Linked DNA regions of Homo sapiens: region 2 is linked to region 1. Evidence: promoter capture Hi-C in human tissues and cell types (Jung and others, 2019). All regions are on one chromosome and are shown on one strand. Each heading gives the region's core, a stretch centred on a gene start or on the middle of the fragment in contact. The rest is flanking DNA. Distances are from core to core; before and after follow the strand shown.

The links. The method cuts DNA at HindIII sites, captures the fragments that hold promoters and counts their contacts. A contact is called where the count stands out against the background at its distance.
Region 2: a fragment that was not itself captured here is called in contact with the fragment with the promoter of CSNK2A3 in region 1 in 2 of the 25 tissues and cell types used here (IMR-90 fibroblasts and mesendoderm cells).

What each region holds. Positions count from the first base shown.
Region 1 is chr11:11,349,466-11,356,931 of GRCh38, forward strand. It overlaps CSNK2A3 (casein kinase 2 alpha 3), which reads right to left and starts at 3,785. Exons shown (of 1, transcript NM_001256686.2): 1 at 2,477-3,785. The coding sequence starts at 3,654. The coding sequence ends at 2,479. The region is part of intron 6 of GALNT18 (polypeptide N-acetylgalactosaminyltransferase 18); the gene reads right to left. The HindIII fragment of the contact is 7,765 bases long and covers 1-5,105 here.
Region 2 is chr11:10,980,222-10,987,687 of GRCh38, forward strand. No RefSeq gene overlaps it. Among named protein-coding and RNA genes, the nearest start is that of ZBED5-AS1, 130 kb to the left of the region's middle. The HindIII fragment of the contact is 6,426 bases long and covers 212-6,637 here.

The DNA.
Region 1 (7,466 bases), core at 2,535-5,034:
CTTTAAAATTTTTGCCAATCTGATGGGCAAGAAATTCTCCCTCACCGCAGTTTTAATTTGCAACCTCCCCTGATTACTAGTGAGAGAGAGGTTTTTTGTTGTTTATGTGCCCACAATACCGAACTCTGAGAGAAGGCTCATGTCAACTTTGTCCTCACCAAGACACTAAACAGGGCTGGCACATGAGCGGTGCTCAAAAAAATATAAATTGCACGAATGAAGGAACCAGAGCTAGGCTTTAGTTCTGCGTTATCCTCAGTGCACTTTACTTGGTGTTCTCCCAGGTTTCCTGGGGTACATATTTAGTTATTTTAATGTATTTTAGTGTAAGAGAACATTTAAAAAATCTGACAATGCTTATTCCTTTCATCAGAGCCTGCAGAAAAACACTCCCTGAGGATATGGTTTCCCAAGCCCTCTTCTTGCAATCAACACTTCCGAAGAGTCCTCTGTGTGGAATTGCTGCTTGGAAAAAAAAATGATGCTTTTTCTTGGAAGGTGTCCCTGAAGGGGTCTGAACATTTGGGTTAGCCCTAACAAACAGTTGAAGCAGTTCCTCTGTTTGAAAGGGATCCCTCATAACTATCAGAGGCAGCAGGATTCATTGGGCAGAATTCCAAGGAGAGACAAGCTGGGCTGGAATGTCTGGAAGCTTTCCATGAAGAAAAACTTAAAAGGCTGTTTTGCAGGAATCTGGGATTTGCTGAAACAGCTGCTTACCCACAGGAAACCCAGGGTCAAGTTAGAGGGGCAACAGTAATGTGTCATTCTCAGCAAACTGGCCCATCCCATACAGGGGGCCTGGCTTTTCCTTGGACCCAGTGCTCTGCCTATAATGACTGGGCCACAGGAGTTCAGGGAAGGACATTCCAGGAGGACTGCTTTGCAAATGTGTGGTCATTGAGACTAGAAGTTATCTTTAATGGTTCTGACCAAGAAGGGCTTATTCGTGGTTACCTCAAATCTCATATCAGCCAACAGGCCTGATTACTATTGTTCAAACTCAGGCCAGATGGGACTCAAGACAAGTTGGAAAAAGGAAGACGTCAGGCTCTGACATACAGGGGTTGGGAAACTGAGCCAGGAGTAGAGTGGTCTCCAAAGGTGTGGCAGAGACCCCTATTGCTCACTGACACCTGGGTGCTCCTCCATATTTCCCTGCACCCCTTGCAGTCAGGAGGGTGCAAATCGATGAGATGAGAGAGGACATGGCCTCTGCCACTTCCCGGGGAAGGCAGGTGACTATCCAGTGTGTCTCCTTAGGTGCACTTCTACTCCCCACCCCACCATCTGCTGGATGTTTAAGCCAGGGTGAACTTGAAGTTCAAAGATGCTGAACCCACAAGAGAAGCAATCAGAGTCCCCAAGTCACTACTTGGAGAAAAGCTGCACAGGAGAGCCTCCCAGCCAGCCTTCAGGGGACTGTGTGAGCAAAATAGGACATTTCCTGGGTAACCTCTATTTCCAGCAGTTCTGAGAGCTGCTGTTTCAGTCTGTGATGCTGCCAGTATGTAAAGAGGCAAGGTGACCAAAGAGGCATGGTCCCTGCAGGCACCAGTTTCCAGAGGTTCAATCTATTGTGTGGGGCTCATATGAGAAAGCTCCAGGTATAGGGACAGATGGAGTGTCTGGAAGGTGACCGCTTCCCAATTCCAGCTGATGAGTTCATTCAAAGCAGTACCCCACTAGAGGCTGAGGATGCAGGGAGCAGATCTAGCCCCAAGGGGTGAGAGAGGGAGCTGCAAGGGGCAGGCAGGACATTTGGACTCCTGCACATCGGGCTGCTGTGAGAGTTTGGTTCAAACTCAGAACCAGAGCAGAGGGCAGGAAACCAAGGGTGAAGCTAGCCAGGGTGGTAGAGGAAAGGTCCAGGTTTGAAGATGACATACAGCTCCAGGTTCCTTGGAAAGCCACAGACAGAAGCCCTGTGGCAACTCCACTTACGCAAGAGGGAGCCAGCTGGTGAGGCCAGGGCTGCAGCCAGACTCTTCCAACCCTTGTAAGGGGACACAAAATCTAGAAGGATCTGACCCTCACAGCTTCCCGATGCACAAGGCTGGGAAGGTAAGCTAGTTCAAGTCCAGGCATATCTATGGAACCAAAACCCTATAGAAGCCCCAAACTCAGAGACAGAAGTATTAGCAAGTTCCAAATCAGGGTCCCATTGACACCTGCGCTATCTACTGTAATCACTTCTTTGTTTTGAAATAGGATCTCTGGCCCCCATTACTGTCACTGGTGCTGCCAGAGAATGACAATGAGCTTAAATGTCATAGGGATTTGGGGAGCAATTTTCTTTTTTTTTTTTTTCAGCCTATTATAATTTTTTTTTATGACTGAACTACTATAAATCCACAAGCAACGGTTCAGACACGTTGCTTCTGAAGTGTTTCACCCCTCCCCGCCAGGCGCAAGCTGCATCAAGGAGGGGGTGGACTCCCCCACCTCTGCTCAGGCATCAGGAGACAGATAGGGCCGTTACTGCTGAGCGCCAGTGGCAGCTGGAACAGGCATCCCAAGGGGGTTGGCAGCAGCAATCACTGGTGAGCCTGCCAGAGGTCCAAGGGGTGAAGGAGTTGGCACTGAAGAAATCCCTGACATCACATTGGCGCTGCTGACGGGCGTACTGCCCCCTGGCATGCTAGATGAACCCATTCGAGCCTGGTCCTTCACAACAGTGTAGAAATAGGGGTGCTCCATGGCCTCTCTTGCAGTAAGCCGTGACTGGTGGTCATATCGCAGCAGTTTGTCCAGGAAATCCAAGGCCTCAGGGCTGACAAGGTGCTGATTTTCACTGTGGACAAAGCGTTCCCATCGCTTTCGAGAGTGTCTGCCCAAGATATCATTGAAACGTGGATCTAATTCAATGTTGTATTTGTCAATATAGCCATATAAATCTTCTGTCCCCAGAAACTTGGCTATCCTCACCAACTGATCATAATTGTCACGTCCATGGAAAAATGGCTCCTTCCGAAAGATCATACTTGCCAGCATACAACCCAATCTCCACATATCCAAACTATAATCGTACATCTGATAGTCTACAAGTAGCTCAGGACCTTTGAAGTATCGGGAAGCAACTCGGACATTATATTCTTGGCCAGGATGATAAAACTCAGCCAAACCCCAGTCTATTAGTCGTAGCTTTCTGTGCTCATGATCAATCATGACATTATGGGGCTTGACATCTCTGTGCATAATTCCCATGCTGTGACAATAATCCAGGGCCTTCAGAATCTCATACATGTAAAATCGAATATCATAGTCTGTTAACGTCTGGTACAATTGCTTGAAGTCTGTGTTGTTTACGTGTTCAAAAACCAAGGCGGGGGTTCGTGACACAGGGTCTTTTACAATGTCTGCCAGTGTGATGATGTTGGGACCTCCTCTCAAATTCTCCAAAATCTTTATTTCACGCTTAATTTTCTTCTTTTTTACTGGCTTGAGAATTTTAACAACAACTTTTTCATTATTTGTGATGTTGATGGCTTCAAATACTTCACTGTATTTACCTCGGCCTAATTTTCGAACCAGCTGGTAGTCATCTTGATTTCCCCATTCCACCACATGTGACTCGTAATCCCAGTATTCTCGAGGTCTGTGTGTATTAACATCTGTGTAAACTCTGGCCCTGCTTGGCACGGGTCCCGACATGTCAGACAGGTTGGCGGACAAAGCTGGACTTGATGTTTGGAGATCTGGCAGTCACTGTGTTCAGAAGCAGCTTGGGGGTAAGACCTTGTTTCAGACCTGTTTTCTTCACACTGTGGTGGAAGCGGCAGCGGCTGTGGCCGCTCTCCCTTCTGCTCACACAGACAATATGGCGGCGATGGAGTGGGGAGCAATTTTCTAAAATCCAAATAAAAACCTTCCCATCTCTAATCTGAGAGTCATTTTTATCAGCTAACTGGGCTCATCTATTTACTCAGCATATTCAGAGCCCTTTTTGGGGGTTAAGTCCCTTTCAATTGCTGTGAGGCACCGTCTCCTTGTGGACATGCTTGTGCTATCCAGCTGCTATTCAAAGCACATCTCCTGGACCATGTTTAATTTATACTTTCCTATATGAAGATGAACCACTTACTCACTTAAAGTATTTCTTTTTTTATGTCTCTAATCAGTGGCTGTTTCTTTCCTCTCTCTGAAGCTTAATCGAATCAGAAACAAATCCCACACATATGAATGGCTCATTAGCATGTCCCAGTCAGATTCAAATTGGCCGTCCATACCAGATGCCCCCAAAAGGATAACACTGGCCCAAAGAAGGACTCTTTAAACGAGTGTCCAAAGGGTGTTGCCATGATAAGCCAGGAGGGTTCTTTCTGAAATCCAGGGTAGATACACTCTGTCATTCCCAGCACCATAGAGCCAACTGATGGCAGGTAATGGATGTGTCATTGAGATGGGGTTGGTGGGAGGCAATGTGGCCAAGCCTGGGGAGCAGACATCAGAGGAATGTCTGGTGTCTATGTGTCTGGCTCAAGCATCATCCTCACACTTGGCTCAGTGGGGCCCTTTTATCAAATGATACAAATGAGGCTGAGATGCTGAACATTCTCTCGCTCAGAAATGATATTTGTTCTAAAGAGCTTCCCCTCTTAATCAAATGAAACTCAGATTATAAACACTGGTATGCTACATCTTCTCTTAAAGGATTTGCTCTTTTCATAGACATCAGAATGAATCGTCAGCATGGGCATCATCACTGGTGTCATCTCTGAAAGTCACCGATAGCAAACTCTCATTTAATACAGATTTACAAAAGAGATCAGCATACTGCAATAGAGTAGAACTGAAGGGAACCTAACCAGGACCTCCCTTCATTTCCCAGGTGAGCAAACTAAGGTTCAGGGTCACAGGATAATTTAGAAGCACAGTAAGATATGGATCCAAGAGCCTGCCTTTTGGAAGACAGGAAGTCATTATGGTTCAGAGCATAGCCTCTGGGGCCAAACAGTCTTGGTGTCAAGTCCTACATTTCCCATTTGCTGAACTGGTGACTTTAGGCAATTCACTTCACCTTCCAACACTCAGTTTCCTTGTCTATGAAATGGAGATAAAAGTGATAAATTCCAAAGATAGTTGCTGTGAGAATTAAATGAAGTAATACACAGAGACAGTTTATTTCATCACCTGGAAGAAGTTTAGAGGCCCCTAAGTATCAGCTATAATTATTATCACTATAATATTCCACTGATGATAAGATTCACTATTGCTATACCACAGCTTTTCGGGACAGGGGAAAACACACTACATTCCTCTGAGCTCAAGATTTATATACCCAAGTGCCTACGTCTCACCTTCACTCTCATGTGTCTCAGGCATCTCAACCTTACCATGTCCAAAACGAAGTTCCCGATTTTCTTCCCTGCCTCCCCATCTGTCCCTTAGTCTGCCCCTCATCCATCTAATAGCCGAAGCCTGTAACCTGTAATTCATCTGTAGCAATGTCTTCTTCCTCCCTCTCCACATCCAATACATCGGCAAAAGCAGACAGTTCTACCTCCTAAATATAGCTTGAATTTAATCACTTCTCTCCATCTGCACAGCCAACATCCTGGTCCAAGTCCCTATTATTTTTGTGTGGGCATCTCCATCCAGAGCCTCTTCCCTGGTCTTTCTGCGTTGTCGTGTTGCCCTTCAATCCGTATTGCCCTCCAATCCACTTTTTAAAATTATACATCAGAGCATGTCCCTCCTCTGCTTTAATGCAGTTCAGCAATTATTTACTGAGCACTTACTATGTGCCAGTCTTTGTTGTAGGAGATGGGAATCTTACCACAGAACAAAATATAAAAAATCCCTGACTTTCTGATACTTACACTGTGTTTTTTCTGTTACAGCACTCCCTATGGACTGAATTGTCTCCCCCTTCCTCAAATTCATATGCTGAGGCTGTAACTCCCCATGTGACTATATTGGAGATGGGGCATTTAAGGAGGTGATTAAACATGCACAAAAAATTCTCAGTAGAATGACCATATGTTCTGGTTTGCTGGGGACTATTCTGGTTTATACCTAGTGTTCCACTGTTATTAGTAGCACCCCCTTTCACTCGCAAAAGCTTCTAGTTTGGACAGTAAATTAAAATTTATTTACATATTTATTATTTATTTATATATGCCAAATGTATAAGGTCCAACCTGATTTTAGAAACACTGAAATCCCAAATAAGTATCTGTCTTAAAATCATGGTCTTACTAATCTTTTCCCTCCCCTAGTCCATGATTTCTCTATATTACTACAATCCTAGTGTGGTGAAAATTAAGCAAGTCATCAAGACCCTCACCTCCTGATGTGCAGCATTTGAAGCAGGCCTGAGGAATAAAACAGAGCACCCCACCATTCAGTGCTCCAGAGACCAGAGCCCTGTCTCTTGAACTTTCCCAAACTAGACAGACAGAAAGAGAGAGAGGCAAGACCTAAAGGAGTGAATGGTGTTCCTGGGCCATTTACACCAGGGGTTAACTCTTTATTTTCAGGACTGACTTTGTATACAGGTAGGCTTTGTTTTATAGAAAAACTTGTGTGCAGGGGTAATTTCTGGATACCAAACTTTATAGAAAAACTTGTGTGTAAGGGTAATTTCTGGATACCAGCACCTACAGCACTAGAAAAAAATGTGCTCACAGGTACCCTGCCCTTTGCATTGCTTTACAAAGCCAAGAACATTTGTATTTGGAGATGCCCCTGACCCCTCCTTCTGCAACTTCAGATTTATGAATATCGGATCTTGTCCAAGGAAAACCACAGCAGTGTCAGAGGAGGAGGAGAAGGAACCCTTGCTCAGTTTGTGGCAGTTCTTCTGAGGAAATGATTCTGGCCTTGCTTGGTGGTCTCTTCCAGGAAAACTAGAATAACAATGTAATGGTGGCCAAGAAGCTACCTTCCAGGGTCTGATACCGACCAGCATGCAGACTCAGCTAAAGAAGAACAAAGAACAAAAATGGAAACAAAAGGGAGACAGAAAATGACTCTGGGGAGCTTTAACATACATTGTGAGCTTCCAGGTTTCTTTGGCTTTTGTTTTTGCTTTTTTCCAAAATTCAGGAAATTAAACATTGATACATGACTATTATCAAATCCCCAGTCTATAATCAAAGTTCACCAATTGTCCCAATCAAAGCCTTTATAGCTATTTTTCCCCTTCATCCAAACTTTTTAAGAAGGTAAAAATTTCCTTCAGGTTGACTCCCCAAATCCTTCATCAATTGTTACCTCGTTTGTGCATGTTATTAATCTCTCTTTTATACAGCTCCCTCATTGAATGCAATTGAAAAAACCAAAGTGTGAAGACCATTCCTGAGTAAAATTGTTCTTGGGCACTCTCCTTCTGCTCCCCACCATTTCTAGCTAATCACTTCATTATGTACTTTTTAAATTGCTTTGTTCTGTAGGGATTAATTTTGCACTTATCTTCACTAACCATAAAACTTTTACAACGTACTTTTAAACTGCGTCTACTC
Region 2 (7,466 bases), core at 2,175-4,674, 370 kb before region 1:
CCCTTTTATAGCATCCTATTCTTGTTTCATAGATATAATGTATTCTTTTAGTTCTGTGAGCATATTAAAGTTATTTTATTTTATTTTTTTTTAGACGGAGTCTAGCTCTGTCACCCAGACTGCAGTGCAGTGGCGCAATCTCGGCTCACTGCAAGCTCCGCCTCCCGGGTTCACGCCATTCTCCTGCCTCTGCCCCCGGAGTAGCTGGGACTGCAGGCGCCCGCCACCACGCCCGGCTATTTTTTTTGTATTTTTAGTAGAGACGGGGTTTCACTGTGTTAGCCAGGATGGTCTCGGACCTCGTGATCCGCCCGTCTTGGCCTCCCAAAGTGCTGGGATTGCAGGCCGTGAGCCACCGCGCCCGGCTAAAGTAATTTTTTAATGTTTTCCTTCTTGTATGGCCTGTTTCCTCCCCACTCCCGCCCCCTGTCCCATTTCTTTTGGTTTCTGTCCTTCATGCTGGAGACTTTCCTAAGCTGCTTGGTAATTCTTAGATATCTACTCATGCTTAGGAGCCGGGGACTAAAAATCTGTAGAGGATGTTTATACACCGGAAACTTTTCTGTAGGGTTATCCAGCTATGCCATTTGCTAGGGAAAACCCCAATGTCAATTTTCAAAAAATCTTTTCTCTTGAACCAGCCAGATACCTTTCATAGACCCTACCACTCTGCTGCCTGGAAGGCAAAGGCCTGGTTGCTGATGTTCTAGGAGCCCGGTGCAGGTAGCAAGATGAGAGTCTCAACACTTCATATGTGTATGTTCACTTAATTTAATGTGGTATCTTGGCCTTCAACTGGTTCTGTTGTTCTTCAGTCCAGACACCCTTTATTTTGTGCTCTACAGAGAATAAACCTCCTGTATTCTTGAGAATGGGGCAGGGTAGTCACCTGCGGGCATAGAGGCACGGAAAGAAGCTCTAATTGCTTCTTAAATAATTCTTGACCAATCTAACTTGTTTTACCTTCTCCATCCTCGGATCCAGAGGCATCAGTGCCGCTCATCTCCATGCCTATTATATTGTGTTAATTCTCAGCTTTCTCCACTGTCGGGTTAAGATTGACCGTCTACAGCTCTACCAAGTCAGTGACCATTTAACCAATTGCTTACCATTTCTCCAAATTTTGTTGTTGTGGTCTCTTCTCTATGTTCCCTGTCCTTGTTGTTCTTGTTTCTTATGAGGTTTCTGACCCTGGGTAGCTAGCTCTTGCTCTCCTGTGACTGCTTTCCCTCTTCCCACCACTGCCTGCTCTCTCGTGTCATCACAGTGAGGTCTGGGGCAGGCCATAGCACCTTCAACAACTTGGCACAGGGAGTTTTACCCAATTGCAGTGGGACTGTCTATGGAAGTGATCAAGAGCCATTTTGGGTACCAAAGCCAGCTCAGAGATTAAACAGAGGAAAAAGAGATGATTTCTGTCAACAGATTAAGAGAGGCCATCTGGGAGGAAGTGGTGTGTGAACCAGGTCCTGAGAAGACCATTCATGTTTCAGTTCAATTAAATTCAAATTCACGTGTTCTGTGAATAAGCAGGCATTGGATTGGGATAGGAAGTTGCTATAGCATAGGGATTTTAAATAGGGAGTTCCAGATAATGCCTGCATTTGAATCCTGGGTCCTTGATTACTGACTGTAATTTGTTTAGATTCTGTAATTCTCAGTTTCCCAGTTGAGAAAATGGGGGTAATAATAGTACCTTTCTCAGGGGTTATTGGGAAGATTAATTAAATGCAAGAGTGCATATAAACTAGTCAAGGAACTATAGCATAGTATATACAGACAGTGGCTCAGTATGCAGACTGTGCCAGAACACCTGGATCTGAGTCCTGGCTGTGACTTAGTAGCTCTGAGAACTTGGGCAGGTTACTTAAACTTTCTGTGCCTCAGTTTATTTATCTGTACACTGGAGATAATGTATTGTCAGGATTAAATGAGGTAAGGTGTAGAAAGAACTTAATACAATGCCTGGTGCATAGACGACAATAATACTTGTTAAAAGGAGTGTAACATGTTAGTAGGACAATCCTTGAACCAGAGTGCCTGTATAAATCCCACATCTGTCACAACCAGGTGTCCTGGGTTAAGTTCCTTGATATTTCTTTGCCTTAGTTTCCTCATCTATAAAATAAATATAATCGTACCCACTTTGCAGGGTTGTTGTGAGGATAAAATGAGTTAATACATACATAGCATGAAGTGCCTATAAGTGTTTGCTATTACTATTGCACCAGATTTAGTTGTCTTTCTTTTCTTTTCTTTTTTCCTATTCTCTTTTCCCTTTCTCTCTCTCTTTTCTTTTCTTTCTTTCCCCTCTCTCTGTTCCCTTCCTCCCTTCCTTCCTTCCTTCCCTCCCTCTTTTTTTTTTTTTTTCTGTTCCTTGTGGAGCAGGGCTAACCCACAGGCAGTGTACCAAGAGTAGCTCAGATTTAGTTGTTTTTCTTCTATTTGCTTTTTTCCTAGTGTATTCCACCAAGGGAGGATTCTTTCACAAGTGTACCTCACAGGTCATGTAGCAGGGATGTCCTGGGAACATGAATTGAACCCAGGACTGCCTGATTTCACATCTGATCACTTAAACTTATCACAGACCGCTCTATCCTGTTGCAGAAAAAGTGAGGAGAAAAAGCAACTTCTGCCAGGGTATAGACAATGGCCCTGTAAGAGGGTGTGGTTCAGCCAGGAGCTGAGTCACTCATAATCTGCTCTTCCTGCATTAAAAGGTGGTATCAGGAGGAGACCTTGGAGGCACTTCTGCCAGAGACAGGGGCTGCTGGATTCTCCAGGAGGTGATGGGAGAAGAAAGCCAGGCTCTTCTGTGGGTGTCATCTGCCAGGCCCTGGCCCTAACAGGTGTGTTGCTCGGAGCCCAGACTGATGGCAGTGAGGACAGGAGGCTGCAGACATCACTCAGTGGCCTGATAATTGGATATTTCTATAATGACAAATTACAGCTGTTTCTCTTGTCATCAGTGTGAAAACACTTCCGAGGCCGTGATTTCCCAGGAGGGTCTGTGGTTGTTATCCAGTTAAGATTATGGAAATGCTGGCATAGGGGACATGAAGCATGGCCGGATGAAGCTGTGTTTCTGCACCACTGGCTTCTGGGTATTTGGCCCTAACGTTGAATGCAGAGAGAGTATCAGGCTCCTGTCATAACACTATCACTGTTAATTCTGCATGAGTGTCATGTTGAGATGAGCTGGCCTTGTAGTTTGTTATTTGGCTTCAGCCTCTACTGTTTTTTAATTTGACCAAAAGACATTGTCAGATGTAAACATCAGTGGAAGGTCCAGCTTTTCTTTGCTTGGAAAATGCTGGAGAATTCACAGTGAAGAGTAATCTTGGAAGCTTGCTCTCCAGCCACTGGCCTGTTACCTGAGCACTGATGTTCAAACAGGGGTAAGAAAGTTCAAAGTGTCGGCTTTTCTGCTTTGTCCTCCAGGAAGTCAAACATCTGCTGTCCTCCAAAACTGAATCCTCATTGACAGAAATTCTAGAAGATAGGCTGAAGCCATCCTTGTCCTAGGGCTTGTTGGGGCTCCGAAGAAGAAAAAAAGCCCTTGGATAGAGGCAGTATCATGTTCATTTAACCTTTCCAAGTCTTGATTTCCTTATCTGCAAAATGGGGTTGTTGTGAGGATTGGTGGATAGTGCTTGACACATGGCATGGGCTTACATGTAAGTGTTAGCTATGAAGAATATGTGTTTCAGAGCTCTCAGGGTTTGAGCCCTTCTTGGCCTGCGAATCCCATGGAGATGGAGATGCAAACCTCTCACAGGAGCCAAGTCATTCTCCCGGTCTTCTGTGTTTTTCTGGGTAGATCGGCCTTCATGACCTGTCCTGGTGTCCCTGCTTTCCCCAGTCTGGCTCAGTTGCTCGCAGAGAGGACTGTCTGCCTGCAGGATCAGACCCACACAGGTGCTGAGCTCGTTCTTACTCAGGTCATCCATTCATCCAATAGTCCCAAGCACCAGTGCCAGACACCGGGTACAGAGATAAAAAGAGCAAGGCCTTTGCCCTCAAGGAGCTCACAATCTGGTGGGAGAGATGGGCATGAAAACAGATTATAGCCACATATTGTGAAAACTCTGAGGTGGACATAGAGACAAGAAGAGGCCCTGTGGCTGCAAGAACCAACAGCCTACCAAATGGCATGCTCCCCTGTCAACAGGGTGGAGCTGGAAGGCTCCTGGACTATACTTCCCAGCCCTCCTTGCAGCCAGGCATGACCTTGTGACTCATTCCCACCAATGGGATATGGGTGGGAGTGAGGTTACCACTCTGGCCAGAGATCTTAAGAAGTGGGTGTGCCTCTTCCAGTCCCTCTTACCCCTTTCATTAGCTGGATGTAGACGACCCTGAGACCCTACGGGTTATGGAGCCAAAAGACGCATCTCTAATTCCCGCATGAGGGAAAGCTGCTTGCCAACAAGGGATGCCTACTTTAGACTATCACAGAATGACAAACCTCTATTGCATCAAACCACTGAAATTTAGGAACTTTTTATCTAAGATTATCCTAATGGACACAAATGTCTAATCCAACGGGTGGCTTCAGGGAAGGATTCCAGGAGGAAGCGACACCGGGGTCTTAGCTGCTTACTGGGTCCAGGAGCTGGCAAGCAATGCGTGGGGGTAGTGATAGTGTCGAGATGAGGGGTGGGTGGAGGGAGGTGGGAGAAGCTGGGAGGATATTTTAGGCAAATGAACAAGTGAAGCATGGTGTGTGTGTGTGTGTGTGTGTGTGTGAAGGAGTGGTCTGTGTGTGTGTGCACCTGTGTGTGTGGTATGGGTGACAACAGGAAAGTTAGTATTCCTGGAGTGTCAAGGGTGGGGGCAGGAGATAGTAAATAAAGCTGCAGGAATTTGTAGGGGAACCTGTAGGACCTTGTGTGCCAAGGAGTTTTAATGACTCCTGTAGATAATAGGAGAAGCCCAATGGAATGGCTTAAAATGGACAATGTGATCAGATTGTGATTTATAATGACTGCTTTGCTGGAAGTGTGATGAATGGATTAGATAAGGTGAGTCTAGAGCTAGGGAGACCAGAGGGCAGTTATGAGGTGAGCTGAAGCCTCGTCCAGGAGAGGCACAACGGAGGCACGGCTGGGCAGTGGCAGAAAGGGCAGGAAGACTGAGTGGTTGATTGGATTGGTGGGGTGCAGAGACAGAAGCATTAAAGATGATGCCTGGGTTTGTAAAGCCATATATGATTTTTACTCATACAAGTGAATAGGAAAGGAAAAGGCAATTAAGTTTTCTGTGAAAGGAGGTGGGCATGGTGGCGTGTGCATGTAGTCCCAGCTACTCAGGAGGCTGAAGTGGGAGGATCACTTGAGCGACTCCAGCCTGGGCAACACAATGAGACCCTCATATCTAAAATAATAATAATTAATAATAATAATAATAATTCAGGATTAGGAGAACTTGCTTTAATTTTATTTTTAAAAGCTCTCCCTATGTAGCACATCCTAGCTGCCAAACAATTTTCTAAGCCCTTTACATATATTAACTCATGAATTTTAACAATAAATCCTTGAGTATCATGGGTACAATGACTAGCCTCATTTTACAGATGAGGAAATTGAGTCGCAAAAGGTTAAACACTTTGCCAGCTAATAAGTGGCAAAGTAAAGATTTGGAGCCAGGGAGTCTGTTTCCTGGTTCATGCTCCTGAACACCATGCTCTGTTTCTTGTTTCACATATGGTACAGTGTCCCAGTTAGCATCCTTCTTGAACCCAAGGGCCCATGTGGAATTTGGACACTGATGCCAGCCTGGACTGAACCTGAATATTCAGTGACCCCATCTGGACATTGAGATCTGAATTCTGGATTTTCCCATTCAAGAATCTGTTCTCCAGGCAGACTACAGGCCCGACTCCAGACCTGCACTTTCTGAGCTTCCTCCATCACCCCTCCTCAGCCCCGTCCCATTGCTGAGACCCAGCATGACTTGCAGCCTGGTGCTCACAGCTGTGACACCTTTGGGGCCCCCATACCCCCAAACACTAGGGCACTTGCCCAAAGCCACAAAGTCAGCAAGTAGTTAGGTTTGGATTCAAACTGAAGTCTGTCTCCAAAACCACATCCTTTCAACTATTCCCTGTGGCTTCCCCCATTCTCCCCAAAGGTCTACATTTAATCCTCAGGACTCCAAGATCAAGCCCAGGGCAGTTCCACTTCTCCTTGGCAATATAGAGTAAGACCAAGAATGCCAAGTCTCCATCCTTGGGGATATTCTCATCCTCCAGGAAAGAAGTAGAAGGGAAGCAGTGCCCAGGCTGGCTGTCCGGGTAAGCCCAGCAAGCTGAGCTGCAGCTCATGGACTTTGGCTAATTTGTTATTAATTCCTTAGGAGCACAGAACAACCCTAACAAGATGCAAAAATCAGTAGCTGAGGGAAAGACAAAGCAGCTTTCTGAGCACAATGTGAGGGAGGAAAGTGGTTTTTAAAAGATGTTGACAAACTATTTGCTGTGCAGACTATAAAGTGGAGAATAAATGACTTTGTTGCACTGATTCAGATTTTTTTTCCTAAGTTGAAAAGAGGAGAGTAGTAATGGGCTGGGGTAAGGGGCCTGGGTGGCCTTGCAATGCCAAGATAATTATTGTTTAGTTAGAAGACTGATGATTTTGTTGTTGTTGTTGTTGTTTTGTTTTGTTTGTTTTTTTGTTTTTTGTTCTGTTTCTTTTTTTTTTTACTTTTCAGAGGCAGAAAGAGCAATTGGGGCTGAAATGGGTTTCTAAGTGATGGAGAGAGATAAACATCTGTTAGCAGTTAGCAGTAATGGCATCGGCTCGAAAAAAAATCCTCTACAACCTGGAACCCAGGGCCTTCCTTCCTGACTCCTTTGTGCCCAGCAATGAGGAGAAAGGCTGAGCACAAGGACAGAGTGAACCCTGTAGAGCAGGGGTCCCCAACCCCTGGCTGCAGACTAGGAAGAGTCAGTGGTGGCCTGTTAGGAACCAGCTACACAGCAGGAGGTGAGCAGTGGGTGAGTGAGCATTACCACCTGAGCTCTGCCTCTTGTTAGATCAGCTGCGGCATGAGATTCTCAGGAGCGCGAACCTGTTGTGAACTGTACATGCGAGGGATCTAGGTTGCATGCTCCTTATGAGAATCTAATGTCTGATGATCTGAGGTAGAATAGTTTCATCCCAAAACCTTCCCCCACCCCCCTCCCATCTGTGGAAAAATTGTCTTCCACGAAAACAGTCCCTGGTTCCAAAAAGGTTGGGGACTGCTGCTGTAGAGGGATGGGGTGGGGCAGGAGATCCCTGGGTGTATGGCCTTTGTGAGGACCACAGTGCAAGCCTGTGTCTAGGCTGCCAAGTTCAATGCCAAGACACATGGTAGCCATTCCTGAGACAGCACTATAGCCCCCAACTAGAGGAAGAAGTTGGGCTGGTGTCACTTCCCTGAAGTTTCTTCCAGAAGCCCAGCTAAATCAAAGAGGTTGCCAG